Linked DNA regions of Homo sapiens: all the other regions are linked to region 3. Evidence: promoter capture Hi-C in 16 types of primary human blood cells and fetal thymus (Javierre and others, 2016). All regions are on one chromosome and are shown on one strand. Each heading gives the region's core, a stretch centred on a gene start or on the middle of the fragment in contact. The rest is flanking DNA. Distances are from core to core; before and after follow the strand shown. Region 1 has its middle 83 kb from the start of NRAL. Region 2 has its middle 31 kb from the start of NRAL. Region 3 holds the start of HOXD4 (homeobox D4). Region 4 has its middle 25 kb from the start of NRAL. Region 5 overlaps LINC01116 (long intergenic non-protein coding RNA 1116). Region 6 has its middle 26 kb from the start of MIR1246. Region 7 has its middle 6.7 kb from the start of MIR1246.

What was found. Contacts are between HindIII fragments. The CHiCAGO score rates a contact against its expected background, and 5 or more counts as called.
Region 1: a contact is called between a fragment that was not itself captured here and the fragment with the promoter of HOXD4 in region 3, in 1 of 17 cell types (endothelial precursors). The highest score is 6.3, in endothelial precursors.
Region 2: a fragment that was not itself captured here is called in contact with the fragment with the promoter of HOXD4 in region 3 in 1 of 17 cell types (endothelial precursors); the score reaches 5.3 in endothelial precursors.
Region 4: a contact is called between a fragment that was not itself captured here and the fragment with the promoter of HOXD4 in region 3, in 1 of 17 cell types (endothelial precursors). The highest score is 6.0, in endothelial precursors.
Region 5: a fragment that was not itself captured here is called in contact with the fragment with the promoter of HOXD4 in region 3 in 1 of 17 cell types (fetal thymus); the score reaches 6.7 in fetal thymus.
Region 6: a contact is called between a fragment that was not itself captured here and the fragment with the promoter of HOXD4 in region 3, in 1 of 17 cell types (fetal thymus). The highest score is 6.8, in fetal thymus.
Region 7: a contact is called between a fragment that was not itself captured here and the fragment with the promoter of HOXD4 in region 3, in 1 of 17 cell types (fetal thymus). The highest score is 7.1, in fetal thymus.

What each region holds. Positions count from the first base shown.
Region 1 is chr2:176,423,040-176,426,988 of GRCh38, forward strand. No RefSeq gene overlaps it. Among named protein-coding and RNA genes, the nearest start is that of NRAL, 83 kb to the right of the region's middle. The HindIII fragment of the contact is 170 bases long and covers 2,151-2,320 here.
Region 2 is chr2:176,474,883-176,478,675 of GRCh38, forward strand. No RefSeq gene overlaps it. Among named protein-coding and RNA genes, the nearest start is that of NRAL, 31 kb to the right of the region's middle. The HindIII fragment of the contact is 859 bases long and covers 852-1,710 here.
Region 3 is chr2:176,149,009-176,153,206 of GRCh38, forward strand. It overlaps HOXD4 (homeobox D4), which reads left to right and starts at 2,542. Exons shown (of 2, transcript NM_014621.3): 1 at 2,542-3,058; 2 at 3,600-4,198. The coding sequence starts at 2,626. The coding sequence ends at 3,934. It overlaps MIR10B (microRNA 10b), which reads left to right and starts at 1,295; the gene lies at 1,295-1,404. It also overlaps a transcript of HOXD3 not described here. RefSeq lists an enhancer at 2,261-2,994. The HindIII fragment of the contact is 3,668 bases long and covers 1,815-4,198 here.
Region 4 is chr2:176,530,930-176,535,076 of GRCh38, forward strand. No RefSeq gene overlaps it. Among named protein-coding and RNA genes, the nearest start is that of NRAL, 25 kb to the left of the region's middle. The HindIII fragment of the contact is 3,325 bases long and covers 169-3,493 here.
Region 5 is chr2:176,617,833-176,621,884 of GRCh38, forward strand. All of the region lies in intron 4 of LINC01116 (long intergenic non-protein coding RNA 1116), which reads right to left. Among named protein-coding and RNA genes, the nearest start is that of LINC01116, 18 kb to the right of the region's middle. RefSeq lists an enhancer at 3,081-4,052. The HindIII fragment of the contact is 485 bases long and covers 1,250-1,734 here.
Region 6 is chr2:176,573,191-176,576,926 of GRCh38, forward strand. No RefSeq gene overlaps it. Among named protein-coding and RNA genes, the nearest start is that of MIR1246, 26 kb to the right of the region's middle. The HindIII fragment of the contact is 915 bases long and covers 1,492-2,406 here.
Region 7 is chr2:176,592,285-176,596,341 of GRCh38, forward strand. No RefSeq gene overlaps it. Among named protein-coding and RNA genes, the nearest start is that of MIR1246, 6.7 kb to the right of the region's middle. The HindIII fragment of the contact is 5,480 bases long and covers 23-4,057 here.

The DNA.
Region 1 (3,949 bases), core at 986-3,485, 270 kb after region 3:
TTTGGTTGTAAAGATTGAGAGGAAGGAAACAAATATGAAAATGTGATGCATTCAAAGTAGTAATGTTTTGCTGTAAGAGGACTCACAGAAGACAACGTGGACTTAACATGGCTCTTGGATTTTTTTGTTTTTGGTCTGGGAGGAGTCTGAAATGCGACAGTTGCCTGGTAATGAGTATGAGGGCACTAGGTTGAGGAAGGAAGAGGACATTTTCTCTTTCTTTCCCCCCGCTTTTTTTTTTTTTTTTGAGACAGAGTCTCGCTCTGTCACCCAGGCTGGAGTGCAGTGGAGTGATCTCGGCTCACTGCAAGCTCTGCCTCGTGGGGTCAAGCGATTCTCCTCCCTCAGCCTCCCGAGTAGCTGGGATTACAGATGCCTGCCACCATGCCTGGCTAATTTTTGTATTTTTATTAGAGACGGGGTTTCACCATGTTGGCCAGGCTGGTCTCATTTTTCACATTTAATTGACGGCAAGGCAAATATTTAACATTTTAAATGTTGTACTGTGAGTACAGTTCTGTACCAGGTGCTTTGAGAATATTAAAGAGAATTTTGTTGAGGAAGCCAAAATATACAGAACCAAGGAGCAATTAAATAGCAAGACATGAACAAGAGAAGATAAAAACACATGTATGCATATGTTTGGAGTACACCAAGGGTAACAGGAGGGATCATGAGTTAAGTGGGGCTGGCCAAACGCAACTTTTTGTATCTCTTGAGTTTTAAGCTGAGATCCTGAGAATTAACCTCATCAGTAGAAGTGGGCAGGAAAGATATCTTTTATTATAGTAGGAGCAAATTTAGGTGGCCTTTTATTCTACTGAGCAAAAGAAAGTCGTAGCTGGGTCTCTGGAGAAGGGGATGCTGGAAACTAGGGTTTGAGCCAGATTTCCACTGTGCCTGTCTGAAGAGCAGACAGGGAAAGGCAGCCTATCATGAGGTTGCTATTAAAGTCCTGGAATGACACTGGGAGGCTTTACCTAGAATGGCAGCTGGGAAAACATGGAAAAGGTGAATCCAAACAAATAGGGATTTGGGCAACTGTCCTTTCTGGCTCAGTTGCTCAAGGAAAGTGTACACCATTGGGAAGTAAATCAGACTGGGTCTTATTCATCTTCCCTTAGTGTCTGGCACTCCGGGGATATTGATATGTGTTTACTAAATGAACAAGTGAATGAATGAATGAATAAGACTGACTCAACTGGGAGGGTACCTTAGAAGCAGGAGCAAGATAATAGCTATTGATCAATGGCTGGAAGTTACGAAGAGTTCAAAAAGATTCAGAATGGAGTAGGGCCATTTTTCTTTACAGAAGTGAAGAAGTCATTAACTGGATGGGAATTGTGGTTTCTTTTGCGGTGGGGCAGGTGGAAATTATGCTGGAAAGGATGGATCTCTTTGGCTCATTTACATGGCCTGGTTACACCAGGTCTTCAACTTCCACACCAATCAATATTTATATCCTTAATGCTCCCTGGCTTCCCTTCTCACAGAGGTAAGACACATCAGGATTTGAATTCCAGGTACTTTGCTCTCTGTAGACATATTTGCTTTGGTATGAGAATTATCTTGCTTGACATACCTTAGTATTCTTTACCTCTGCTCAGCGGTTTCAGTAGTTTTTTTTTCCCCCAAACCTGTTTATAGGGTTTTGCAGACCTGCCTTCTCTCTTAAAGGGACATTTCTGTTTCCTCCAAACATTTTCTAAAACACCTGAACAAACCAATTAAAAGAAAAAGTCATCTTGTAGTTTATAATGGTATTTGTGACTTTATAGGCAGTGAAATCTCTTCCTATATACATCCTAAATTAACAGAGTCTGCCCTTCATCTTTCCTTGTTTCTCTCAGGGCAGGAAATTGTTCTGGTAAATGGAGTCCCTCCCCCACGAATGCCTGGGATGGCCAGAGCCACAGAGTCCTCTGATTGTGCCCCAGGTTGATGGTTCTGTGTGCAGGGGGTCTGCATTGCTCCAGTGATCCCATGAAATGGAATTCTTTCCCCAAGCTGGAGCCCCTAAATTTACCTCTTTCTTCCTGCATTCCCTCAGAGATAGAGAATCCGAGTTAATCCCTTCAGGATTCTTATGGTTTTAACTCTTGCCTCTTCTGCTGCTGTCCTCCACTTAAATACCCGAAGCGAATTCCCTAAGCTTATTCCAGCATTGATCCTTATTTTCTTGTATAAAGGGAGAACTGCATTAAAGGTAGAGTTTCTTTAAGTGAGATTCTTATGCAATTATATATTTTTTTCTGTATTTAATGGTTGACTGTTATTCTCTTACAATGTCAAATCCTTTCTAACCTTGCTTTTCAAAACAAGCTTTGCTTTCTATTTCTTATAACTTGCTTTGGGGGAAAGAACTTTCACAGCATTTAGAGGAAAGGATGCTTAGACTAGGAGTGAAAATACCAGGTTTTCCTTTTCCCTTGTCTCTTGGGGAATAAAACATCTTCACACAGGCACACTGTCAGGTGCTGCCAACAAACAGCTACTTCTATAAATCAGTTTATTAGGCCTTTAATTTCTGTGACATTTATCTTCCCAACTTAGTTGTAAACTTTTTTTGATCATGGGAACTGACTGTTTATTTCTTTTCCTTTTTTGTTTGTTTTGCATATTCTAAGCCAACTTCAGGATTGGGTTCTCCAAATTGTGGGAAGGGCCTCTATATGTGTAGCTGGTGCCCAGGTTGAGGTAGCTACTAATTCCTGTGGGGTTGGTTCTGTTTGTTAGAATCATTGTTTTAAAATTAAAACATTTTAAAAATGAATTTATGCCAATATATGAAATGTGATGGCATGTTCACTATAATTATTTAGGATATTTTTGTCTACAAGTGTCAGAAAACTCAATTCAAAGTGATGTAAACAACAAATGGAGTGTTCCCTGTACTTTTTCCCTGTAATTTACCTTACTTTTTCTGCCAAAATTATTACTAGCATTCCTTTCACTCTCAAAAGTGCCTGGATTTGGATGATAAAATATTTGGTCATCCATATCCGTGCTTAGTGGCTGCCGTAATAAATGACCATAAAGTTTGTGGTTTAAAACAACACAAATTTCCTTTCTTATGATTCTGTAGGCTAGAAGTCGAACACAGGTTTCACTGGGCTAAAATCAAAGTGGCACCAAGGCTGGGGTCCTTCTTGATGCCCTAGAGAAGAACACATTTTCTGTTGTCTAAAACATTTATTTTTAAATAGACTTTATCTTTTAAAGCAGTTTTAGATTCATAGCAAAATTGGGCAAAAGGTACAGAAATTTCCCATATGACCCTGTCCTCACACATGCATAGCCTCCCCCAGTATCCTTGCTTTTCCCGGTTAGGAGAGGTTGCCTGCATTCCTTCAGTCATGGCCCCTTCCTTCAACAGTGTGCGGCCACGTGCTCCTCATACTACCGTATCTCAGGTCCTCTCTCCAGGTTCCCTTTCCCATGTTTAAATGCCCTTGTAATTACAGCACACCCATCCAGAACAATCCAGGATCATCTTCCTTTTTAAAAGTCATCAGTTGAGTTGCAACCTTGATTCTATCTGCAACTTAATTCCTCTTTGTCCTGTAACAAAACATATTCACAGCAGCCAGCAATTAGGCCACGGTCATCTTTGGGGGGACTTTATCCAGCCTACCACATCACTATACTCATAAAGGGCTTTATTATTGTATTATACATATCAAGAAGTCTAGACATGAGATGACTCCGGGAGGGTAAGTTTACAGCTGATGCCATCATTATGGGCCCAAGTTCTCACGCCTTTCTGCCAAGCCATCTTCAGCGAGCAAGCTTGTCTTTTGCGTTGGGTGCAAGATGGCTGCCGCTTTCTCAGCCACTGTGTGCAGTCACAGCCACAGCCAGCTCAGATAAGCAAGGGGTAAAGAGATGGTTGTTTTGTCTCCTGTAACTCCTTACTAGTGATGAAAATCTTTTCCACAGCCCCATAAGA
Region 2 (3,793 bases), core at 31-2,530, 320 kb after region 3:
TGGTTCTGTGTCCTTCAAGATAAAATGCCGAGTGCTCAGCATATCACACAAGGTCCTTCGTATCTGTCTCCTTCATATTTCTTAGCTGTCCCTAGGGCTTTGCACATACTACTCTGTGTTCCCAGAGCCCCTAGCTACTTCCTTGAATGCACAACTCAGTAAGCCCTCTCTTTTCTTCCTCCAAACCTGGCTGGACTATTTTTTCAGCTCCTTGCACTTGTCTCCATTCCTTTGTGATATAATTGTGTCTTTACTTGTTTGCCTTCTCCACACTGGGCTGTGAGCTCTTTGAAGGAAGAAATTACCTGAGACTGGGTAATTTATAAAGGAGAGAGGTTTAATGGACTCGTGGTTCCATATGGCTGGGAGGCCTCACAATCATGGTGGGAGAGAAGGAAGAGCAAAGGGATGTCTTACATGGTGGCTGGCAAGAGGACTTGTGCAGGGGAACTCCCATTTTTAGACCCATCAGATCTTGTGAGACTTATTCACTACCACAAGAACGGTATGGGGGAAACCGCTGGCCTGATTCAATTATCTCCACCTGGCCCCACCCTTGACACATGGAGATTATCACAATTCATGGTGAGATTTGAGTGGGGACACAGCCATATCACCAGTGCTTGGCACATAAAGAGATATTCAATAAATATTTGTTTCGTGGTGAAATATACACACTAATAAGGCCTGGGCTTGAACTTCTTTTTTTTTTTTGAGAAAGGGTCTCACTTTGTCACTCAGGCTGGAGTGCCATGGCATGATCACAACTCACTATAGCCTCAAACTCCTGGGCTTAAGTATCCTCCCACTTCAGCCTCCCGAGTAGCTGGGACCACAGGCATGTACCACCAAGCTTGGCTGATTTTTAAATTATTTTTGTAGAGATGTGGTGTCTCTCTGTTTTCCAGATTGGTCTCCAACTCCTGGGCTCAAACAGTCCTCCTCCCTTGGCCTCCCAAAATACTGAGATTACAGGCATGAATCACCATGCCTGGCCTGGGCTTGAACTTCTGGTTCTTCAAGGAAAAGCCCTAGAGAAGCATTCCCAGCCTAGGGACATACATAAACAAAGACAGCAGTGGGATTTAACTTTGGAATATAGACACTGCAACCTTAGGAACTTTTTAGAGTATCGTGGGGTTTAAACAAACAAAAAGAAAAAACTAGCAGTATAGGCAAAAGGAGTGAAGGGTCAGCAGTTATGGAGTAAAAATACAAAGACTTACTGTTTGTAGAGTGCCTACTCTCAGTCATACTCTCTACTAGCATCTGAACTATGGAGTCAGAGATTGACCTGGAGGCTTCTGGGGCCCTGTGAAACCTGGCTGAGTGTGTTTTTTAAAAAAGTGTTATGGTCTGAATGTTTGCATCCTCCCAAAATTCATATGTTGAAATATTAACCCCACGGTGATGGTATTAGGAGGCAGGGTTTTTGGGAGGTGATTAGCTCATGAGGGAAGAACCCTCATGGATGAGGTTAGTGCTCTTACAAGAGGCCAAAGGGAGCTGATTTGCCCCTTCTGCCATGTGAGGTTACAGTAAGAAGATATCCATCTATAAGAAAGCGGGCCCTCACCAGCATCTGGCCATGCTGGCACTGTGATCTTGGACTTCCCAGGCTCCAGGACAGTGAGAAATAAATTTCTGTTGTTTATAAGTCACCCAGTTTAGTGTATTTTGTTACAGAAACCCAAACAGACTAAGAGAATAAGCTTCCAAGAGTTCACCCATCCTCTGAACAGGCAGAAGGATACAAACATGATGAAACCAGCATTTGAGAAAGAGTATGGAAATGGTCCCTTGCCAGGGTCCCCATGTGTCACCATATGCAAGTACCATAAAAATACTTATTCTTCTTGGCATCCCCAACAGCATTTAGAATTGATATGACTGCTGGGTACTTTGTCACAATTCACTTGTTAGTCTTCACCTAAGTGGTTTTATCTCTGTGTTTAGCATTTCGCCTGTATTGTCTCCCACCCTTGGCCCACCTCTTACTCTACCTGCTGCTATTGTAATTAGCTTTATGTGGCCAAATTTGACAGCACCTCACCTCAGCTACACCATGGACCTCTTGCTTCCTGTCCCAAGGCCCCTCTGACATCAAGGCTGAGAGAGATGCCTGTGGAACCCATTCACATACGCAACCTGGAAGTGCAGGAAGGTAAAGTTTCACAGGCAGCCCTTGATCAGTGGAAATAAGAGCTGGCGGAGAAATGCTTCCTCTTCGGTGTCCCTAGGCAGGTAATTCTGAGGCACATTCTTTTTTTGAGATGGTCTCGCTAAGATGCCTAGGCTGGAATGCAGTGGCGTAATCTCAGCTCACTGCAACCTCTGCCTCCTGGGTTCAAGTGATTCTCCTGCCTCAGCCTCCCGAATAGCTGGGATTACAGGCATGCACCATCACACCCAGCTAATTTTTGTATCTTTAGTAGAGAGGGTTTCACCATGTTGGCCAGGTTGGTTTCAAACTCCTGATCTCAGCTGACCCACCCACCTTGGCCTCCCAATGTGCTGGGATTACAGGCATGAACCACTGCGCCACTGTGCCTGCCTGGCCTCTGAGGCACATTCTATACAGTGTCTCAGAAGCTCCTGGAGGCTTGAGCTCCATCACTCACAGCATTGACTGGACAACACACCCTTCTCTGGGCTTTCCCCTCTTTCCTCTTTTATTGTCCACAGTGTCTCATTTCCATTTCCTGGGTTTGCCTCTCAACCAGATGTAACCCACTGTCTTAGACTGCTTGGAAGTGGCAGCACAGTTGAAGGGTAGAAGGGAGCCAGGCTCAGAACCCCATGCTTAGTACCCTCAAGTCATGAGAACACCAGGACTACATCTTGGAGCCAAATAACATGTTTGCAAACAAAATATACACAAGGAGCAGTTTGGGAGAAGCAAAATCATCAGCATGGCTGGTTGAACACCTTCTGTGAAAAGATTTGTTTTCGTTAGATATTCTAAATGTTACCTTCCAGCTTCAATAGGTCAATCCGTTTCTTTCTTCTATGGACACAGGGACCATGTTTTTCAGGAACAAATGACCCTGAGCTGAGAATCCTTGTGGGGCAATCTGCTGCATTATTCCCTGATAAATGGCCTTTACCATAAAGATGTCATGGATTGCCACAAAGAATATTCTAAAAAAGGAATATTTCTCATTATGAAAAATCCTGTGAAGACAGTTATCACAGTTTTGCTATGAACTGTCATAGCAAACAGTTGTTTTCTAGTTGATACAACATTATTTTGTGAAGTCTTTTATTTATTATTAAAATGAGAATTCCATTAATTTCAGTCTTGTGTTTCTAAAACGTAATATTTTCTCATAGGGATCAGGAATCAGGCAAACATCTTTCATTTTTGTCTAAGATGGTTTTGGGTAGACAAAAAGTGAAATGGATTCCATCTCTCACAAGTACAAAGCTGCCTTATTATTGGAGTCCCTCCATTATGCATTGTGCAGAGGAGCAAAAGTAATCATAACATGAAAATCTTTACTAATGTTATTTATTCATTTATTCACTTAAAATTCATTTATTCACTTAAAAATCTCTCCCCTAGTTAACACAAAATTTGCCATTTACTTTAACAAAATAGTATAAGTCTGCAAAGTGAAGCTGTAAATCTTACAAAAGATGTGGGATTGGTAAAGTTGATAAAAGTGATGTTGACAATTGTTTGAATCATATGCAAAGCTATAGAAAGATAGGTGCAGCAAACCACCATGGCACACTTTTACCTATGTAACCTGCATATCCTGCACATGTAACCCAGAACTAAAAATTAAAA
Region 3 (4,198 bases), core at 1,292-3,791:
TTTTGTTCATCAATAACTCGTTGGCTTTGACCTGTCTGAACAAGTCGAGCAATAAGGTGAAATGCAGGTCACAGCGTCTAACAAATATGAAAATGTGTATATTCACCCCGGTCTCCAGCCGGCTCAGCAGGCTCCCCCAATTTGTCTGGATAGAGCCTAGGCCCAGTGTCCCAGGAAGGTGGATACTTGGGAGTCTTTGGCATTCAGGGAAATTGGGGGGACTCTCCTGGGATAAACAGATTCTGCAGCCTCATAGCCCTTGTTAGAACTGGCGCCCCCAAAATCCCTACGAAACAGGTAAAGTGGTGGAAGCAAAGGATGGGGGGATGAGCAAAGTGCCAGGCTTGGAGGGGGAGTATCCCTGCCCCACCCCACCAGGCCCAGGCCCAGGCTTGAAACTAAATTTTGAATTATGTGGGAGGTAGGAAGGGCAATCAAGACAGTTAAAAAAAAATCTAACACCTTCAGCCTACAGTTAGGCACCCAAAAGCCCCACTCGAGCCAGGGCATCCCTGTGCCCCTGAAATCCATCGAGGCTCTGAGTGAGTCTGCGCTCTCCATGCCCTGAACTGAGGGACAAGCACTGCACAGTGCCGAGGCGCTGGGGCGGGTGAAATTTGTGAACTTTTGTACTCTTGTGTGCTGCTGTCGGCAAAGCAAAAATAATGAAAGTTTGTGATATGTTTGTAAATGATTTCGAATGACCCCTCGCCCTGCCCTTCACCATTAGCGCGCCGGCCTCAGCCCAAGGCGGCTCGGTGCCTGTGAGCAGCGCCTGCCTCGGGGTCTGCAGCAGCAGCGGAACGGAGAGGCCAGCCCGGATCAGGGCCCATGAAGGTAAATGCGCGACTTCTTGGAGAAGTAGCTTTGGCAGACAACCTGGCTTGGTCGGGCAGTAGGAAAAGGAGTAGACACAGGATATTCCCCTCTCGCTTCTTTTTCTTCTGCCGCTGAGGGCATTTGTTCCTTTCTGGAAAATACCACTTGGTAAGGAGGAGGGTTATTTGGATCCTGGTGGGGGAGGGTGGTTAATAAAGCCGCCATCCTTGGGATGGATTATTTTTCTTTCTTTCTTTCTTTTTTTCTTTCTTAAGAAGAATATTCTGGTTGTTCGCCTGCTTGGTAACCCTGACCCTGGCAGAAGAATGAGGGAACTCATTGCTTCAAATTGTCGCCAAGCCCATTAGGCTACCTGAACTGTCTCAGAAAGTGCGGGTGGCTGCGTCGAACGGTGGTGGCTCAGAGGAAGAGATTGGGGCCGGCAGCGACCTAGGTACCTCACTCTGGGTGGGACCCAGAGGTTGTAACGTTGTCTATATATACCCTGTAGAACCGAATTTGTGTGGTATCCGTATAGTCACAGATTCGATTCTAGGGGAATATATGGTCGATGCAAAAACTTCACGTTTCTTCGGAATAGCCAGAGACCAAAGTGCGACATGGAGACTAGAAGCAGCCGGCGCTGGTCAGCCGCCTCGTTCTGTTTTATTACCTTGGACTCCAGGAGGATCAGCTGCGCCTGGTGACATAGAGCAGCTTTTCCTCTCCAGAAGCTCCTCACCTTTAAACAGAGTATCCTCTGGGTGCTGAAAAGAAAGAAAGACAGAAAGAGAGAAAGAGAGAGAGAGAGAGAAAGAGAGAATGCAAGCCTAATTGGTTGCATGGATGCAGGGCCAAAGGGCTAGGTTTTGGGGTACTAGGGAGTGAGGTACAAGGCCAGCTTGCCCAGTCCCAGCTCTGCCCTCCAGGAACATGAGGTGCAAAGGTACCCAAATGGGGGCTTGCTTGTATTTGGGGCCTGTGGGAAGAAAGCAAGCTTCAAAGAAGCCCAGTGGGGAGCTCTAGGGTGCATTTTGACAAGGTGGAGGTGCCCTTGCCACCATCCCAGCCCACCCCCAGCTACATGGGCAAGGGCAGCGAGGGCCCCCTGCTATTTTGGCAGGGCCCAGCTTTGGCTGGGAACCCCCGGGCCTGGGCACTGGTAGAAAGCATGGCGGTTACTCATTGCCTAATTTGATTCAAGCTGGCCAGATTCTGGTAACTTTTGGGTGACCCTGATGAAGACAAAGCCAGGACGGCGGCCTTTGTATGGCAGAATCCCTGCTCCCGCCGGCTGCAGGCAGGGCGGGCAGGCAGGAACCCTCCTCGCCTGGGGCACTCTGCCCAACTCAGAGGCGAGTTCACCCACCCACCTTTCATTGCTCTGTACCCCAATAGGAGGATTCATTCTCCCTTGAGCTGTGCCTACTTGGTGTCGGGGGGCGGGGGTTGCATTCAGCTGGGGGTGAGTGGAAGGGCCACGGAAGGTTGGCAAAATCAGTGGCAGACAAAAGCTGGGATTACCTGAGGGGAATGGGGTGCTGGGGACTGGAACTACATTAATATCTGGCAGGGGCTCTCAAATGTGCCATAGCAAGCTACTTGATTACACGTATGTTATTTAGTTAAATTTGTGAAAATTATGAGATGCTCACCAACCCGGTGATAAACTTGCTCCCTCGCCATTGGCTGGCCTGGTCACATGGCTGCCCAACTTTATTCAGTTGACAGCAAGTAGGAGGGCCCTATGGAAGGAGAAAAAAAGACAACACGAGAAAAATTAGTATTTTCTACCTTCTGAAATTAATGGTCATGAGTTCGTATATGGTGAACTCCAAGTATGTGGACCCCAAGTTCCCTCCGTGCGAGGAGTATTTGCAGGGCGGCTACCTAGGCGAGCAGGGCGCCGACTACTACGGCGGCGGCGCGCAGGGCGCAGACTTCCAGCCCCCGGGGCTCTACCCACGGCCCGACTTCGGTGAGCAGCCTTTCGGAGGCAGCGGCCCCGGGCCTGGCTCGGCGCTGCCTGCGCGGGGTCACGGACAAGAGCCAGGCGGCCCCGGCGGTCACTACGCCGCTCCAGGAGAGCCTTGCCCAGCTCCCCCGGCGCCTCCGCCGGCGCCCCTGCCTGGCGCCCGGGCCTACAGTCAGTCCGACCCCAAGCAGCCGCCCTCCGGGACGGCACTCAAGCAGCCGGCCGTGGTCTACCCCTGGATGAAGAAGGTGCACGTGAATTCGGGTAAGGCTAGGGTCCAGTAACCTTTCTGTCCACATCCCAGCCCGTTAGCCTGGGTCCTCTGGAAGGGGGTGCGAGTAGGTGGGGGCGTGTGGAGCTTCCATGGGCGCCGCAATTACTCTCCCCATAAATTTTTATAGCTGAGGGAGCAGGTCAGGACCATGTGGCTGGCTGCTCGGCTGTGGGCGCAAAAGGGGGTGGGGATGGGGGGGTGGGGGAGGACTCCATTTTCAGAGCAGGGGGAAGGCTGTGGAGGAGCGGGGGATTTCCAAAATGCTTGAGGGTTCCGGACCTGGTGGTGGGCCCAGAAGAAGGAGCACATTTGGGGATCCCGCAAGCCTGGGGTATGTGGGTGTGTTTGAGGAGGTGGGTGGGAGTGAGCGTGTGCGCCGGGGAGAGGGCGGGAGGGAGGAAGCAAGCGAGCTTGGGAGCGCGCGGGGAGGGCCGCGGGCCTCGGGGCGCGCCAGGAAGTGAGCGGCGGAGGCGAGGGGCCTAACTAGTGGCCGGGCGCTGACCTGCCTGTCCTGTCTGTTTTGTCTCGCAGTGAACCCCAACTACACCGGTGGGGAACCCAAGCGGTCCCGAACGGCCTACACCCGGCAGCAAGTCCTAGAACTGGAAAAAGAATTTCATTTTAACAGGTATCTGACAAGGCGCCGTCGGATTGAAATCGCTCACACCCTGTGTCTGTCGGAGCGCCAGATCAAGATCTGGTTCCAGAACCGGAGGATGAAGTGGAAAAAAGATCATAAGCTGCCCAACACTAAAGGCAGGTCATCGTCCTCATCTTCCTCCTCATCTTGCTCCTCCTCAGTCGCCCCCAGCCAGCATTTACAGCCGATGGCCAAAGACCACCACACGGACCTGACGACCTTATAGAAGTGGGGACCCTGGGCCCATCTCTCCCTGCGCACCAGGCTGAGCCGAAGCTGCGGGGGCAGGCCGGGCCTGCTGTCACCTCGCTGGGCTCTAAGGTACTGTGGGGTGGACCTGGGACAAGCAGGCCGCCCTCGGACTAGGTTAGCATCCTGCCCGAGGGCAGCCCCCTCCCTAGAGCGGGATGGGGATGGGAGGGGGGGCGGGATTCTCTCTCTAAGTATATTATATGGCAGGAGCTACTGAGAACATAAAATCTTGGCGAGT
Region 4 (4,147 bases), core at 581-3,080, 380 kb after region 3:
TATTAGGAAGGTGCAGAGGAATGGTGAAGAAATGAAACTAGAGAACAAGGATGTATTTGCCTAAAAAAACTGGAAGGAAAAAATGAATTCTTTTCATTGAACCACTATCTGTTCCTTTCCATCCTACTTATGAGACAAGTCAGTCAACAGCTATTTACAAGACATGGAAGCTTAGAATTACATTGCTTTAAAGTATGAGGACTTCAATATTATGGCCTAACAACTAGCCAGTATCTTTTTCAACACAAGAGTAAGCAGTCTGGCAGATCTCTGGAGTTCTAAACCAACAGATCAAGTTCCCCCCTTGGTTGTTTAGGCCTCTATAAAGAAAGAAATGCAATCCAATAATGACGATATTGGCAGTGGAGAAACACACCCAAACCCCTATTAAAGCTAATTCAGAGAGACTTCCTGTACCCTGTAATGATATTTCAAGGCATCTTTTTTGACTTGTGGTGGATTCAAATGTATGTAATGGGTCATAGACTAATAAGATTTTATTGTTCTTGGAATTGGGTTGAAATATCTCCTTTACCTCCCACCTCCTTCATTCTATCACATACCCATGCCCTCTCTGCCCTGATCCCAATATGACCTCATAGCACATGTCCCTTAGGACCAATGCACAATGAGGATTTAGCACAGCTCTCACTGCCTTACCTCTTTGGAGTCTTTGGATAACCTTCCAGGTATGGTTCTGAACCTTTTCCATAAAGCAGTAGCAGCCTTGCAGGAATTTTGCTATGAAAAAAGTAAAATGAACTGGACTTCACGATCAACCAGAAACAAGCGTGAACAGACCTGTTCTCAGACCAAATCAACATCTACTCCTGCCCTGACAACTATAAATTCAGAAGTCGTCACCACATAAAGTGCCTCATGCACAAATACTTGAACTCTGACTTCCTTTCAACAGCCTTAATGGTACTGCTTCCCATATCATTTTAACATGTCCTGGTGTTGTAATGCCATAAATGACAAGCTCAACTATGATCATGGCTCTAGTTGCCAGGCCTAACTCCACAACACCTCTGTCATGTAACAGGCGGCCCTGATGTGGCACACACAAGAGAACTCCGCCCCCGCAACTCCCAGAGCCTCAACTCTCTCAAGCCTTTCCTTCTGTATTAGAATGTGGAGGCCTAAAACCCACTACTGCAAAGTACAGACATGAAAATAATTAACCATCTCTTCTATTCAGCTATAACTTATATTCCCTCTGAGGAGGAAAAATGGAGAGAGAGAGAAAAAGAACTCCAGGCCCAGAGACCCACATTTCATTTGGAACACTAGGGGTTCTTGGTAGAGATCATTAAAGTGTAGTTTGAGATATTTTCCTTTTCTCATCAAATCACTAGCCCTGTAATTGATGTCATAAAAAATATCTGTGTTCAGTTGCAGTGGGTTTCTCAGGTCCCTTCAAGTTATCAATTATTTATATCCCAATGAAATGAAAGGAAGCTGCATTGTAAGGTCCTGAAATGCCACTGAGGAGTCTGAGGGTGGCATCGTTAATCTTGTGCATTGCACCCATGAAGAGCACATTATACTCTACTTGGGAAAGTTCATTTCCCCTTCTCTGTCATACATTATCTGGTGGATTTTATTGCTTCTCCTCATAAATAGTCTCATTGGGCTTTTTGTTTGTTCATATCCTCCACAATTTAGACTCATAAGGATGACAGGAAAAACACCAGTGCCTTCAGATTCCACAGACCCTTTTCTTTGGGTCTTGTGGGCTTTAGCCATTTCCTCCTCATTCCATGGCATCCAGGGAGTTTTGTTCACCTACCAACATTACATAGTCTGGATTTTAGGAAGAATTACATTTTCTAATGGCATAATTTAATTAGTATTAGGGTTCATAGCCTTCCATTATTTTTCCTGCTTTAATTTCCCCCTTCCCAAACTTTCTTCCCCTATTCACACAACAGAGTAATTCTAGCAAGATGAGATAATCACACTGTTACTTTTCCTTGGGGGAAGCAACAGAAAACATTTGATGATAAGTCTTAACATCCTAACTTGGCCATTATTCTTTTAGTGAAATGAAAAGGAGTCTTGGCTAGCACACTACCTTTATATATTCTGGTAAAGAACTTTATAGGTATCGCTGGTAAAATCTGATACTGCACCTTGTGCCAAGACATTATTTTCAGGCTTATTTAGGATTGCCCTTTTATAGGCCTCATTGTAACAACTAGAGACAGTTCATGGAATCAGAGTTATATCTAAACAGAGTGCTGCAATAGGCTTTAGCTTTTCCATCATGCAAAGTGCAGATCGAAATCCAAATGAATCTGTTCCTAATCAGCCTGTGTCTCTGATCTACAGACTATAAATTTGGTTGTTATCAATGATATGGCATGCAAGTGTAAGTAAGGATTGCTTATGTGGAGAAACCACTAAGAATGTTCTAAAAATGTTGGAAGAAAGGAGCATGAATTTATAAGAAAAAAATGGGTACAAGCAAACCCAAATAACCTTGTGTAGTCTTACCTCTACATGACCTATATTTTCTGTTATAGGTCATGATCTCCTTTTGGAAAACAGCAAGGTGGCTCTTTCCAGGACTGAGGAGGGCATATATATTTATTGTTCCCCATCTAGTCAAAGGGAAGTTTTGAGAATAGGGAGCACGCTGGTTAGACAGGACTGCAGCCACAATTCTTTCTTAACGCTGCAGTTTCATGTTTTATATTTACTGTTCCCTAGACATGTAGACATCTAAATTGGCATTAGGAGTGTGGGGAAATTCTGCCAATAATTGGATCCTGAAAACCTCAACAACTTGATTAACTTCAGAGACTTGCAGTCCTGTTTGCCAAGTATTATGCCATCCAGAGTTTCACAATACACCTAGCAATACAGATAACTAATATTCCTCTCCCCTTCATTTCCTGCAAAGAAAGGACTCTTTAAAACATAAGGGGATATGTTCATTCAATGCAGCTACAAAGAAGGAGAGAGGGATATTTTTGCAAAGTGATCAAAAGCTACTTAAACAATTAGGTGCCTGCGATGAAGGCCCCAGCACTTGTGATCTCAGCTTGGTGCTCCAGCTTCCTGTAGGATGGAGAGGCATCATATGGCTGAGGCTATGTGTTTCCTGTCCAGAGGAAGCAGAAGGGATCAGGAAAAAAAGAGAGTAGGGGAAGGAGCAGATGGGTAGAGCTAGAGAGGACTTCTAGCTCTCTCTGACCCTAGCCATGGTCCGTGCTTGATGGTTCTTTTAACAGAATGTGGTTTTGTAGAGGACAAAGCAAGTGCAGCTTAAAGAAGCCCCTGCAGACAATTTCAAAGCTGAAAAAAAAATCAGGGTTGCTTATGTGGAGAAATTACTAAGAATGTTCTAAAAATGCGGGAAGAGAAGGGCATGAATTTATAAGAAAGAAAATGGGTACAGGCAAACCAAAGTCACCTGGTTTAGTCTTAGCTCTCCGTGATCTGTATTTTCTGTTATAGGCTAGGATAAATGATTTCATCTATGTCAAGCTTAATGTTTTTCTTTTCTTTTCTTGTTTTGTTTTGTTTTGAGATGGAGTTTAGCTCTTGTTGCCCAGGCTGGAGTGCAATGGCGCAATCTTGGCGCACTGCAACCTCCACCTCCCGGGTTCAAGCGATTCTCCTGTTTCAGCCTCCCAAGCAGCTGAGATTACATGCATTGCACCACCACAGCTGGCTAATTTTGTACTTTTAGTAGAGATGGGTTTCACCATGTTGGCCAGGCTGGTGTCAAACTCCTGACCTCAGATGATCCACCCGCCTCGGCCTCCCAAAGTGTTGGGATTACAGGCGTGAGCCACCATGCCCGGCCAAGCTTAATGTTTTTCAAAGCATGTTCACATAGGTTTTGTTGGTTGTTCCTTGAGTAGGGTCTGGCTGCTGTCCTGTTTCCAGGTTTAAGGCTCGGAGGGGTAAGTGACTTGCCTGGTGTCCAGCAGCCCAGAGCAGGAAGGACATCACTTAGCTTCTGTTTATGGCTTCTCCGCTACTCAGCTCCCCTAGAGTGGAGCCTTTGTCTCAGGGACTCCTCCACCCTTCTATTGCTCGGCAGGGCACAGTGCTGCTCCCCTTTCTCAGTGGCAGCTCTGTAAACACCGATTGATGAATTAATTGGCAACAGTGATAATGACTGCTCTCAAGT
Region 5 (4,052 bases), core at 242-2,741, 470 kb after region 3:
ATAGTGTTTCATCATGTTGCCCAGGTTGGTCTTCAACTCCTAGTCTCAAGTGATCTTCTCACCTTGGCCTCCCAAAGTGTTGGGGTTACAGGCTTGAGCCACTGTGCTTGGCCAGTAAGTTTGCATTTAATTGACACTATACAAAAGTTATGTTAGTTTATTCTCATAAATGTATTTGAAAGAAAATCCTTCATCATTTTATTAATCACAATTCTTTGTAATTACTCTCCCTCAACTCAGGAGTGCTGTGAAAATGATATTGATGACTAGAAATTGCTATGTGAAAAATATAAAGTAAAAATGTATTTGTATTTGTATATCACAAATCAACCAAACCGATGGTAGAGAGGTTAGTGGTGATACATATGAAGCATTTGCTGGGAATTGAGAAGGTGCCTATTATAAAATTAATGCGTTTGTGTCATATAATTTACTGACCAAACCCAGAGACTCTGAGAGTTAATGGTAGTGCTGTAATATTTATTCTGGGACAAAAAGCATAAATAGGACTGTCAGGAACAAATCAGGACATATGGGCACCTCGTTACATTAAATGAGAACCGTTTCTTATGCAGGTAACCCACAGTATAGAAGTAATGGATGGGCTGTCCTCACAGGTTTATAGGAAGAAAGGGACCCTCATCCTTAATGGAAGTCCCACGAGTTAGAACCAGCAGTTACAAGATTCTGTCTTTTCTACTGGCCACTCTGTCTCGGGTGGATGAAACCTTTCAGCAGTCCCCTTCCCGATGGAGCAACTGACGAGCCCTGTGAGTGGAAGCTCTATCACTTTGCCCATCAGCTCACAAACTCAGAAAACTGCTTGGATGGATCTGTTCTGTCGGGTGTGGGGAGAGTCCTTCCTTGATCAATGCTTAATGAGCCAACTCTGTCATCTTCCTTTCTGTGCCCTCCATCAGAGAGGTTGGAAAGAGGGAGGAGCTATAGAGCTGCAGCTTACTAAAGCCACTAGCCTCTGTCATTGTTCTGTTTGTTCCTCCTCGCCTTGGGAAAAAACTCAAAGCTATATCATCTTGATAAGAGCTTTCTATTAAAAACCAGTGCATACATTATTATTATCTCTTGAGAGATGAAGAAATGGAGGCTCAGAGACATTAAGAGATTTGCCCAGAGGGAGTATCATGGTGGAGACTTCCGAGGCCCGGGCTGGGGCATTTTCCACCGTAACACAGTGCTACATGGAAACACCTCATAAAGACTGCATTGCTTTAATTTAATTTACAATATAAGCTTGAGTGTTTCCAAAGAAATCAAATGTGATGTTCACGCTTTGTTTCCTACAGCGGTGGTTACCCTGTATCATTCCGTAGGCTTGCTGTCCTTGGGCAAATGTGACGCTGCACACCTAATAATCACAGCCAGTCTAGCGGAGGCCTGTGCTGCCGGAGAGCTCCGTGGATGCCGACCAGCATTATTTAAGTTTTCATTCAAAATCTCCTTTAGGGTGACTTCTGTGCACCTGAACTTCCCGTTCAAGAAGATCAACAAATGGCTGAAGACAGATTTTTCAGCCAGAGGAAAGAATTATTACCTTACCATCAGTCTAATGAAAACAGAGGTGAAATACCAACCTGCAGTAGATAAACAGCACACCGAGCCATCCATCACATTCAGCCTTACTGAGCAGAACACCCTAACCGATTTCGCCTGATTTTCCTGCGCCTCTTGCAGACAGGCATTCACAATATCAGAGAGCTGAGACATTTTCCAGCAAGCTTTCGTCAGAATAAAAACCTGATCAGGAATCCTTGAAGCCATCCCGTCTCCCAATCTAAATTCCCCTTTCTCTCTAGCTATGAACACCAATAGCTTATTAAAGACTTGCTTCTCACTCGCAAGCTCTGCCAAGCTGGCATTCCCTTCCAGGAGCTGGTTTCTATTATTATTGGATCTACACAGCACCTCCAACGACAACTCTCTTTTTCAGAACCTTCTAGTTGATAATTAGCATATCCATTCATTCAGCAGAAATACCTGCCCATTACTAGGCACTCCGGGTATAGAGATACAAGGCCCCTGTCTTCCAGGAGCTGAAAGTCAAAGGAAAAAGGCATCTTGCCTATCTATAGACCTTTTCTTTCATTTTTCACATATATCATCACTCATTTTGCCTTAGCAATGGTGAATCAAAGACAGCAATGCACATGTTGTTAACAATGGCCGTTGAGGAACATGTTTGAAGGGCTCTAACACATTATAAATTGTGCTAATGTCTGTTGATCTTTGCAATAAGGAATCATAATAGAAACAACAAAACTATGAAATAGATTTGTGGAATGCTTATGATGTGAAAGGCGCTAATCATATTTTGTTTAATACTTATGGAAATCCCACAAGATCGTAGTATCCCCAATACACAAATGAAGAAATGGAGCCCAGCCTGAGAGTATACATCTAGTGAGTAGCAAAGCCACTATTTGGACCCAGGTATTTTTCAGGGTATTCAGAGATGGTCATACTGTATCTGGTTAATTCACAAGAAACTAATAAGTAAAAGAAAATTTTCACTATCCATAGTGGAGGATATCCCTTTCTGGGGTCCAGAATACCTTGCTCCTATCCATGGAACACCTTCCTCATATCACATTTTTAATCAGAAATCTGCAAAGGGAGAGCGAATAGTATCAGAGGATGTTCCATACAGACTACGGTAAGGACAGATGAGATGACACTTCAAGTCATACACACATGTGTACACACACAAACACACATACATGCACACGGACATGATCTCTGGTGACTGGAGTGATTCCCCCTTTCACTTCCATCACCATCTCTCTAGGACAATTCTACACAAGTCACAAAACTCTGCCTATATGATTACTTATTTTGTGTTCCAGTGCAGATCATCCAAGGTGAGCTTTTGTCCTTAGCCTGGGATAGGCCATATTCCCAGAGTAAGTATGCCTTGTAAATTAGCTCCTTAGTACACTAATGAGTATGACATTTTTAAAAAAGCAAGAGGTCATGTGATAGAGTTCTATGGTTTAAAACATGTTTAAGAAATGCAAATGTAAACAAAGTGAAATCGGCACTGTGACTATGGAAGATTGTCCCAAACAGATTTGAGAAGCACTGTAGGACTCATGCTCCTTAGGACACTGGGCTGTACTCCTGCTTCTTCTGAAATCACATTTTGCAAAAGGTAAAGAAACATTCTATCTCCTTCAATTATGCATGTATTTAAGTAACTTAATGCTTAGAGCACAACTACTTGCCCTAACTTCCAAGCTTCGGAGAGATACCTCCATGTCACCCCCAAGAACCATAAGATGTATCACTTATTTATTTCTATTGCCTCTAACACTTACACTTAGTAGAGAAATAAACTTTTAAGTAATCATCTTTTTACTGGAATCACCGTGTCCAGTCATATTAGTATCTCACCCAATGTGGCTGCTCCATAAAATGTCAATAAGGAGTTGAGATTTCAGACTTTTCTTCTGTGGCTGTGAAACTGGGATGTAATCCAGCTGTTGGGTCAAAGACAAACATCACCTGTACTGTTTCAGATCCATCATGAGTATGATGTGCAAAGATAAGGTTACACCCAGTCAGGTGCTGACACATAGGAAATCGAATCGACCCAAGGGCCACGTTAATTAAAGCAGAGCTCTGCCAAGCAGGGTTTATCAACTGAAGGGGCCGAAGACTCCCTAAATGTGGGCAGCTCAAGATCAAACCCAGTGAACCCTTGCCCTTGGCTGTGAGGCACTCTGAGGACTCGTTTGAAGTACAACCTGAACTTTGCTGGCACTGACCCAAATGCCTACACAAGGCTTTGATCATGTAGCTCTGCGTGCCACAGGATTTCAGTCCAAACTGAGGCTCACTAACAACGACAGAAGGTGGAGATTAGAGGAAAGCAAGAAAGACCCAAAACTTCAAGCACATGCCAAGGAGATAACACTGTGTTGAGAGGCAGTCAGTGCCTCATGAACAATGCTTTGAGCTGCAGTTAATAACAGAGGCATCAACACCTCCCTCACAGATACTATCTTTTCACATTGCCCTCTTGTGTTTTGTATGTT
Region 6 (3,736 bases), core at 699-3,198, 420 kb after region 3:
AAGAAAAAGCTCATCTAACGATGAAGATGGGGCCAGAGAACTCTCAAAGCTGCCACCACTGCTGCAACCATTTAACATCCTGTTTTCATCTTTCTCCTCCAGCAGCCACCTCAGTAGTCCCAAGGCGTGTTCCTGCACACTTACCGCAGGATGCCATAGCTATTTCCTTATTTTGTGTAGCTATTTTTATGAGGTTGTAGACAATGTGCACGCTGGTTTGTGAAGGGTTAACACTCAGTTGTGCTGTTGTTGTGCCCTTAGTCACAATATGTTTCCTTTGAAGCAAGGGTGCAGTGTTTCAAATGACAATCGGTATAATTCTGTGCAGATTTTTCCTGATTAATGGACAGGAATTTTCAGTCGAATCTTTAAATGAGTTAGGACAGTGTAAGAGATGGATATAATCCTTACATTTTTTCATTAATAGACATTTCAAATTTGAAAAACTAGGCATTGTATACATATCTGATTTATTGCTGTATGTGTTTCTTGAGTCATAAAGCTGCTGCAAAAGTTATATAATGCTTGCAAAAAAAATAGCGTGGTCTCTTTGTGAAGCTGAATGAAATAAAGTATAAAGTTTGTGATACATTAAATCACAAACATAAATATGTACTTTATGGCCAGCTGTTATTTCTAAATGTGCACATTTTAAAATAGAAACATTTACCCAACATGCTGATTAGCAATTTCCCAGTTCCAAAAGCCCAATTGCATTTAAGATGCAAAAGATTAAAATGCCTAAATAGATAAAGTTAATAGTTCATCTTCCTAAATGCTTTTATATGTTTTAAGTCTTACAGTTCCTTCCAACCCAGTAGTCTCAAGGCTGGAGCTACTTTGATGTGGATTTGTGTTTTATGCACATGTTCTCATTGGAACTGAATCTCACTGCATCTCAGACACCCAGAAAAATATTCTGCACATGAAGGGACGAAGGGACACCATGTGGCTCCATACTACTTCATGCTGTGCATGCGGGTTCTCAGAGAAAGTGAACTGTTTTTCCATTTTAATTTCTCAAATATTCAACCTTCATTTTGGCTAAAAATCATCTCAGTTGCTAATGTTCCATCTCTCAATTTTACTCCTCCCCTGCATAAAAACTGGTCAAGGAGAACATGCAAGATTATGTTGATTCTAAAATACAGTTCCCCCAGGAGACCTTATTGGCTCGTCCATATAGCATTTCTGTCTTTGTAGGTAGAGCAGAATTTGTAAATGCCTCCAGTCCTTTAGGACACATTGGCAATTGGCAGTTCAAAAGTTCATATGATGCCATATGTCTGAATAATTTTTATCTACATCTAAAACAATACAGGACTGTCAAATAAAATCCTGCATGCAAACAAATGATGGAATGCAGGGGAACTCTCTGCTTTAGCCTTTTCTTCTTTGTCCGACAAGCTAATGCAATAAGGCCAATAATAAAAGGTTGTGTATTAGGCCTAAAGCCTGTGACAGATAAAAAGAAATGTTGGAAACCAATGAAGCTTTTGCACAATTAGATTTTTTGAGGCTGTGCTGTAAGGATTGCCCAGAGCCTGTTCAGTCCTGATTGATGGTAAAATCATAACTACATCATATTAGCTGTAGAGTTCACTGACAGGTTACTACAGATTAATATTGCCACTGCTGTTCACTTACCATCAAACCAGGGGAAATATGAATTGAGCTGTTCTTCTAACAAACCCCGCATATTAAAAGGTAAGGTGTTCTACTGAACAATCTCCCCCTGTCACTGAGGAAAGACACAAACAATGTCTATTTGAGAGATATGCAGATACCTTGCAGCATACTAATTAGTTCTCTGCTAAAACAGCCCCATCACATCCGGCTGGCTAACGACCCTTCATGTGAGCTTGTTCCTTCAGAGCTCTTGGCTACAGGATTGCAAACAACATCCTAAAACGTGGAGCTGCAAACCTTGGTGATTTAAATGCTCGCTGCCAGGCAAATTGCGGTGACATAAATTTGGCCCATGTGTTTTGCATCATGTGAATACGAAACAGGGGGATGCCATGGAGCCGAGTTTTGTTTGCACTGGACTCTGGAGGTTTGGTGGACTATTTTCAGAGATGCTATTCATGACAAGGGAGGAGGATCTTTTGCTTTACTTTAAAAATGTTGAAAATGCAAGAAGTAAGCATGTTGCTCTCCTAAATTAGATCGTGCTGATAATAATGACATCCTAAGATGAAAGCATTTTATCTTTTTGCCACCCGAAGCCTTGGATAAAAATTCAACAGTAAAACGAAAACAGGGCTCACTATACAGTATATGAAATGGAATGATTCTTCCTGATTAGGATATGTCAATAAGGAAGCACTGGAGTAAGAGAGGTATTTCACGTCCTGCCTGTTGTGATGACAAGAGCCCCGGCCTGGCATCAGGCAGGAGGCCTGAAGCTTTGGCCTCTTGGTCAAGGTGCTTGTCCTCTCAAGACTTGGAATGTGTGTGCGGGGGTTGAACTAGGGAATCTCCAAGCTCTCTTTCAGCACTATTATCCCATGTTGCTGGCCCCAGTGTTTTGTATGCTAGGCCATGTGTCTTTACATGGGGCTGTTGGATTTCAGCATCAGCATTCCCTGGGTAGCTGGTTAAAGATGCGGAGTCTGGCCCCACCCCATGTGGTTCAGGTGACGTTCAGTTTAAGAACCACTGTCATGAGGGATGGCAGTGACTTGCCTAAAGTCATTATAGACTTTATCATTGTTTAAAAAAGAATGTGCAAAGAGCTAGACAGTCAGCCAGAGACTGGGGAAGAAGATAATAATATCTTCCTATAGATTTAAAGAGAATTGTTAATCTATTATTTAAATTTATATTATTTATTTATTTGAAGAGAAAATGATGACCCTGGCAACAGTAAACCATAAGCTTCATCACATTAGTGGACAGATGATAGACTAGGAGAAGATGTTTGCAATGCTTAAAACCGACTTTGACAAAAAAAAAAAACCTGACACAATTAATATCTAGAATCTATAAAAAGCTCCTGCAAATTGACCAGAAATAAACAGGAAACACCATAGAAATATATGCAAACAGTATGAAGCTCAAATGATGAACTGGTGTTGGATGGGGTGTTCAAATTCATTGATAAGCAGAACAATTGGCTACTCTAGACACATGAGAACATCAGAGTTTAGAAAACTGAATAATGCCAAGTGTTTGCAAGGATGAGGGGTTGTGAAAACTCTTTCGTTATTGAGGGAAGAGGAAATGAGTATGATTATTTCAGAAAGCAACCTGACAATCTTGATGAAATTAAGTATGAGTATGTCATAAGACTAAGGTGACAAGAGGCCCTTTCTTACTCAGGGTAGCAGGGAAAGTCTGAGGTTCTGACATAATTATTAATAGTGCCGTTTTCATTTTCCAGGATGTTCTTGGGAAAATAAATTATATAGTCACCCTACTACTGCAATCCCACTTCTGAACACATATCCCAGAGAAATTTTCACAAAGGGATCATATATGCCAATGTCTTTTTAGCATTATTTGTGATAATGGGGAATCAAACTTGATGCCTTCTACCAGGGGAATGGATCAGTACACTGGGTTGTCGCAGTCTGGAATACCGTGCAGCTGGTGGAGGCAATATTTTTTATGTAAATATGGCAATATGGGTAAATTTTTAAAGCAAAATTATGAGTGATAAAGAGAGAATGATATTTAAAATTCCATTTGTCTAAATTTTAAAAACAAATATAAAAATTTGTTGAGTACAAAA
Region 7 (4,057 bases), core at 1,513-4,012, 440 kb after region 3:
ATTTCCAGATAAGAACAGGATAAGCTTCCCAAAGCCAGGGGCTTATGTTTTAGAGCAGAGATTTCTTCTTCTTGGTGGTGATCACAGAGAGAGTGGCAATAAGCTAGGCCTGGTAAGATGTTAGTACTTGTATGACGTCAGCGGATGGAGCTGGGCAGGAACAAAATCCCTGTGGATAGAAAGGAGACAGCAAAGATATGGGGGTGGGAAAGCACGCGGTGAGGGGGAGATTTACTTAGAAGAATTCAGGCCTGCAAGCTGGGGAAATTGGGCCGTAAAATTGGCATTGTTTTTTAGAATAATCACATAATTTTCTCGTTCTGGAGATTATCTTGACCTGTTCTTAATCTCCAGAGGAATTCGCTGCTTATGTATCCCTTCTTGACGCCAACCCCCTGTCAGTAACTGAGATTCAGTGTGTCCATGATCCTCAATAAGGGAGGAGATGCAGTGGTGGTGGTGGGGCAGGCATCAGCACTGATGAGTGGAGATTCTACTTTGAAAAGGTTTTACTCCACTGCAACCCTAGATGGTAATCAGTCAATTCCTGCTCTCAAGAGGAACAACCACTGGATGCTGGAACTTAGTTTTGGTCAAACATAGGGTTGCGCTGGATAGTATTTAAGATTCCTTCTGAGCTCAGATTCCAGGACTCTCTTCTCAAGGCTTGTTCATGCTGACAAGGTCATCTCCAAGTAGATAATATTTAAAGGAGCTAGAAATGTTTCGATTGAACTAGAAGAGTAGCTGCCACTTTTTCCATCTCACAATAGAATATTGATATTAGCCACTTTGAGAATGAATTATAAATCATTCCAATAACTATGAATTATATATTTATTGTGTACATGGAAGGCTGTGTGATATAAATGGGTATGACATGGCCCCTTACCTTGAGGGACTCTCAATGTGGTGAGACTAATATTTAAACACACAAATAGATGTGGCAATGTAACACAATGGTTGAGAAGGTGGGCCCCAGACACTGTTACATTGCTAAATATTTAACAATAACAACTGTTGATCTGAAAGAGAATTGTGGGAGGAGGGTACGCTGGTGTGTAGTTCATGCCTATTTCCATGGTGTAAATACTCTCACTATAGCTTATTTCAAGCTACCAACTTGACATCACTGAATGGAGAGTTAGAAAGAGATCCTAATAATAGACTCTCTAATGCTGGTATGAACTGGCTCTGGTGATAACCTATCTGGTCTTGAGTCTCAACTCTGGCATGTACTACTGTAGTCTCCGCTTTGTAACTCCTTTATCCTTTAGCACCATCTGGAAAGTGGGATGTTAGTGGTGCTTTTTCATAAGTTCATTTGAGGGTTCCATGTAAAGTACTTAGAACAGTGTCTGGTGCATGGTCTCAGTAAGCATGAATGTACTTATTATGATTAAATACAAAGAGGATGGAGAGATGGCTACCAGGTAGGGGATTCCAGGACTTAAGAAGGGGTAAATTTTTCTACAGGTGGGGATGGTGGGGATTGTCCTCCATCTCAAGGGTTGGGGGACAGCATGGCAAAGCCAAGCAGGTAAGAAAGTACCAATAATGTTTGGAAAATTCCTTGTAGCTCAGTTTGGCCTGGATACAGGTTTGCCTTTTTAGGGAGATTATGTGCTTAGGAATTAGGGTGGGCCACGTTGCAGGGGTCTTGAATGCAGGAAGATCGGACTTACTACAGGGGACAGTGAGGAGCCACTAACTATTTAGGGACAGCAGAGTGACATGAGACCTGGTATTCCCAACAAAACTTCTTTAAGCTGAGGGTGACATGAATGTCCAAGTGATGTGAGGTGACTGCTTCAAATTATCCCTTGGGAATGCAGACTTAATCTATGATTTAAAACCAGTATCGACTGGCTACAGCCAAGTCTGGCATGCAACTAAAGGACATCAAGGCAAACTCTGGGTTTCAATACAGTGTTCAGGACTCCAATTGGGCCAATGAAAGTTGTCAAACAGGTATATCTTCCATAATAATTAACTCACATTAATGAAATTTCCTATCAAGTAGATGCTCCATAGATATATGATCGAACTGACTGGAATCATCAGTTCACAGAAACTCTAATACAAAACAAATTGCTGCCCTTTAGAAATGACTTACAAATAGAACTTCTGCAAATATTATAGGATAGGAGAAGAGTATCACTTTCTACAGAGCTGATTGAAGGAGAAATTGCTCAGTTGATATTGTTTTCCAGAATGTCACCCCTTCAGAAAACACTCTTTCAAAATGGCTCATTTACTTTGCATCTAATTTCTATCAATTCAGGCTTTGTTTTGTAAACAATGTTCCAAGAGCCAAGTTCCTTTTTAACAGCTTACAAATTACCCCAAATCACACTATTGTTTGTAACAGCCTTCACATTTCGTGTGCTGATTACCAATTTAGAAGGTACAGTGGCATGCGTTGTTTCCTCTCATCTTCATAGTAGCCCTGTGAGAGGGAACTGCAGGACTTGAGAGTTGGAAGGGACCTGTGAGATGACATTGAAGGCCCTCTTTCCTCATTAATTCATTCAACAAACCTTTGTTGTATATTGACAGAAACTTGACAGAAACTGTGCCAGGATTACCCATGCTGAATAAGAGAGAAGGTTCCTGTTCTCAAGGAACTGACATTCTTAGTGGGAGGCCAACTGCAAACAAATGCACAAATGTATTATCAAGATAATTAAATTGTGGTATATTCTCTGAAGGGAATATACAGGTTCTATGATAGAGAGGATTTGGGTTGAAATTGTACTTTAGATATCACTGTCAGGAGGTGACATTTGAACTGAGACTTGAATAGTAAGAAGGAGCTAGTCGTTGAAGACCTTGGGGCAGAGCATTTAAGGCAGAGAGAACAGCAAGGACTCAGGCCAACAGTGAGCCTGGCATGGCTAAGGAAGGTGAGGACCAGTGTGGCAAAGCAAAATAAGCAAAGGGGACAGTGGTACAAGATGACATAGGAAACTTGGACACAACCCAGATTCTGAGGACTGAATTTCAACCCAAGCCATGGAAGTGTTCTGAGCAGAGGAGAGATATGTATCTGCTGGGAGGTGAAGGGATGTGTCGAGGTACTAAGAGTGTCAGCAGTGGGACCACTCAGGAAGCCGAAGCCCAGAGAGAGAAAGTAACTTTTTCAAGATCATTCAGATGGTTGGTGGCAGAATTGGTTCTAGAACCAGGTTTTCGCCCTCAAGTTTTAAGTGTTCTTGTCATTTTGCAAATAAGAAAGTGTCTAAGGGATTTTAATTACTGTTTGTACAGGAGCATCTAGAAAGTTTATAATCATCCCAGTCTTCAGAAAAAATATTATATTGCAGAGTATATTTTTAGTGTGTGTGTGTGTGAACACGTGTGTGTGTACGTTAGAAACACTGAGATCAGTCTATACTTCGTAGACACTAGGTATGTGGGTGTGGCAGACACACCTTATTGTCTATATTATTATAGTCTCCATCCTTTTCCTTTCTCCTGCCCACAGACTCCTCATTTTGTTCCAGATAACATTGTATTTTCCAGTCTCCTTTGCAGTTAAGAGTAACCTAGTTTTGACCAATTAGAATTTTGCTGAGGTTTTCTGGAAAATTTTTACTTTTCTCATAAAAGCCCCATTTTTTCTACATTCTTGTCATTTTCTCTTTCTTTTGTGAAACCATGGAAATGAAAGCCACATATTAAGATGGCAAAGTAAGAAGCTGGAAGGAGCCTGGTCCTTGGTGGTTTAAAAGTCATGGCACCAACTCTGTGCATATTATATTACTTCTGAACTTCATGGCAGTTAAGAAAATGTTAGTTAAACCACTGTGTTTGGATCTTTGTTAAATGCAGCTGAACGCATGAGCTAATTCACTGGCCTGGAGAGAGAAAGAGCGATAAGTTAATACACAGTGGCTGCAATCCAATATAAACAGCTTATGAAAATATGAGATGGGATCAACGATGTGCTAGAACCAGGAAAAGTAAGAGTTGTGGATTTTCCTAAACCAAAGTGGTATTTTTCTAAGCAAAGCTATGGTAGCACTTTCTTTAGGAGGAATTAAGCCATCAGCTT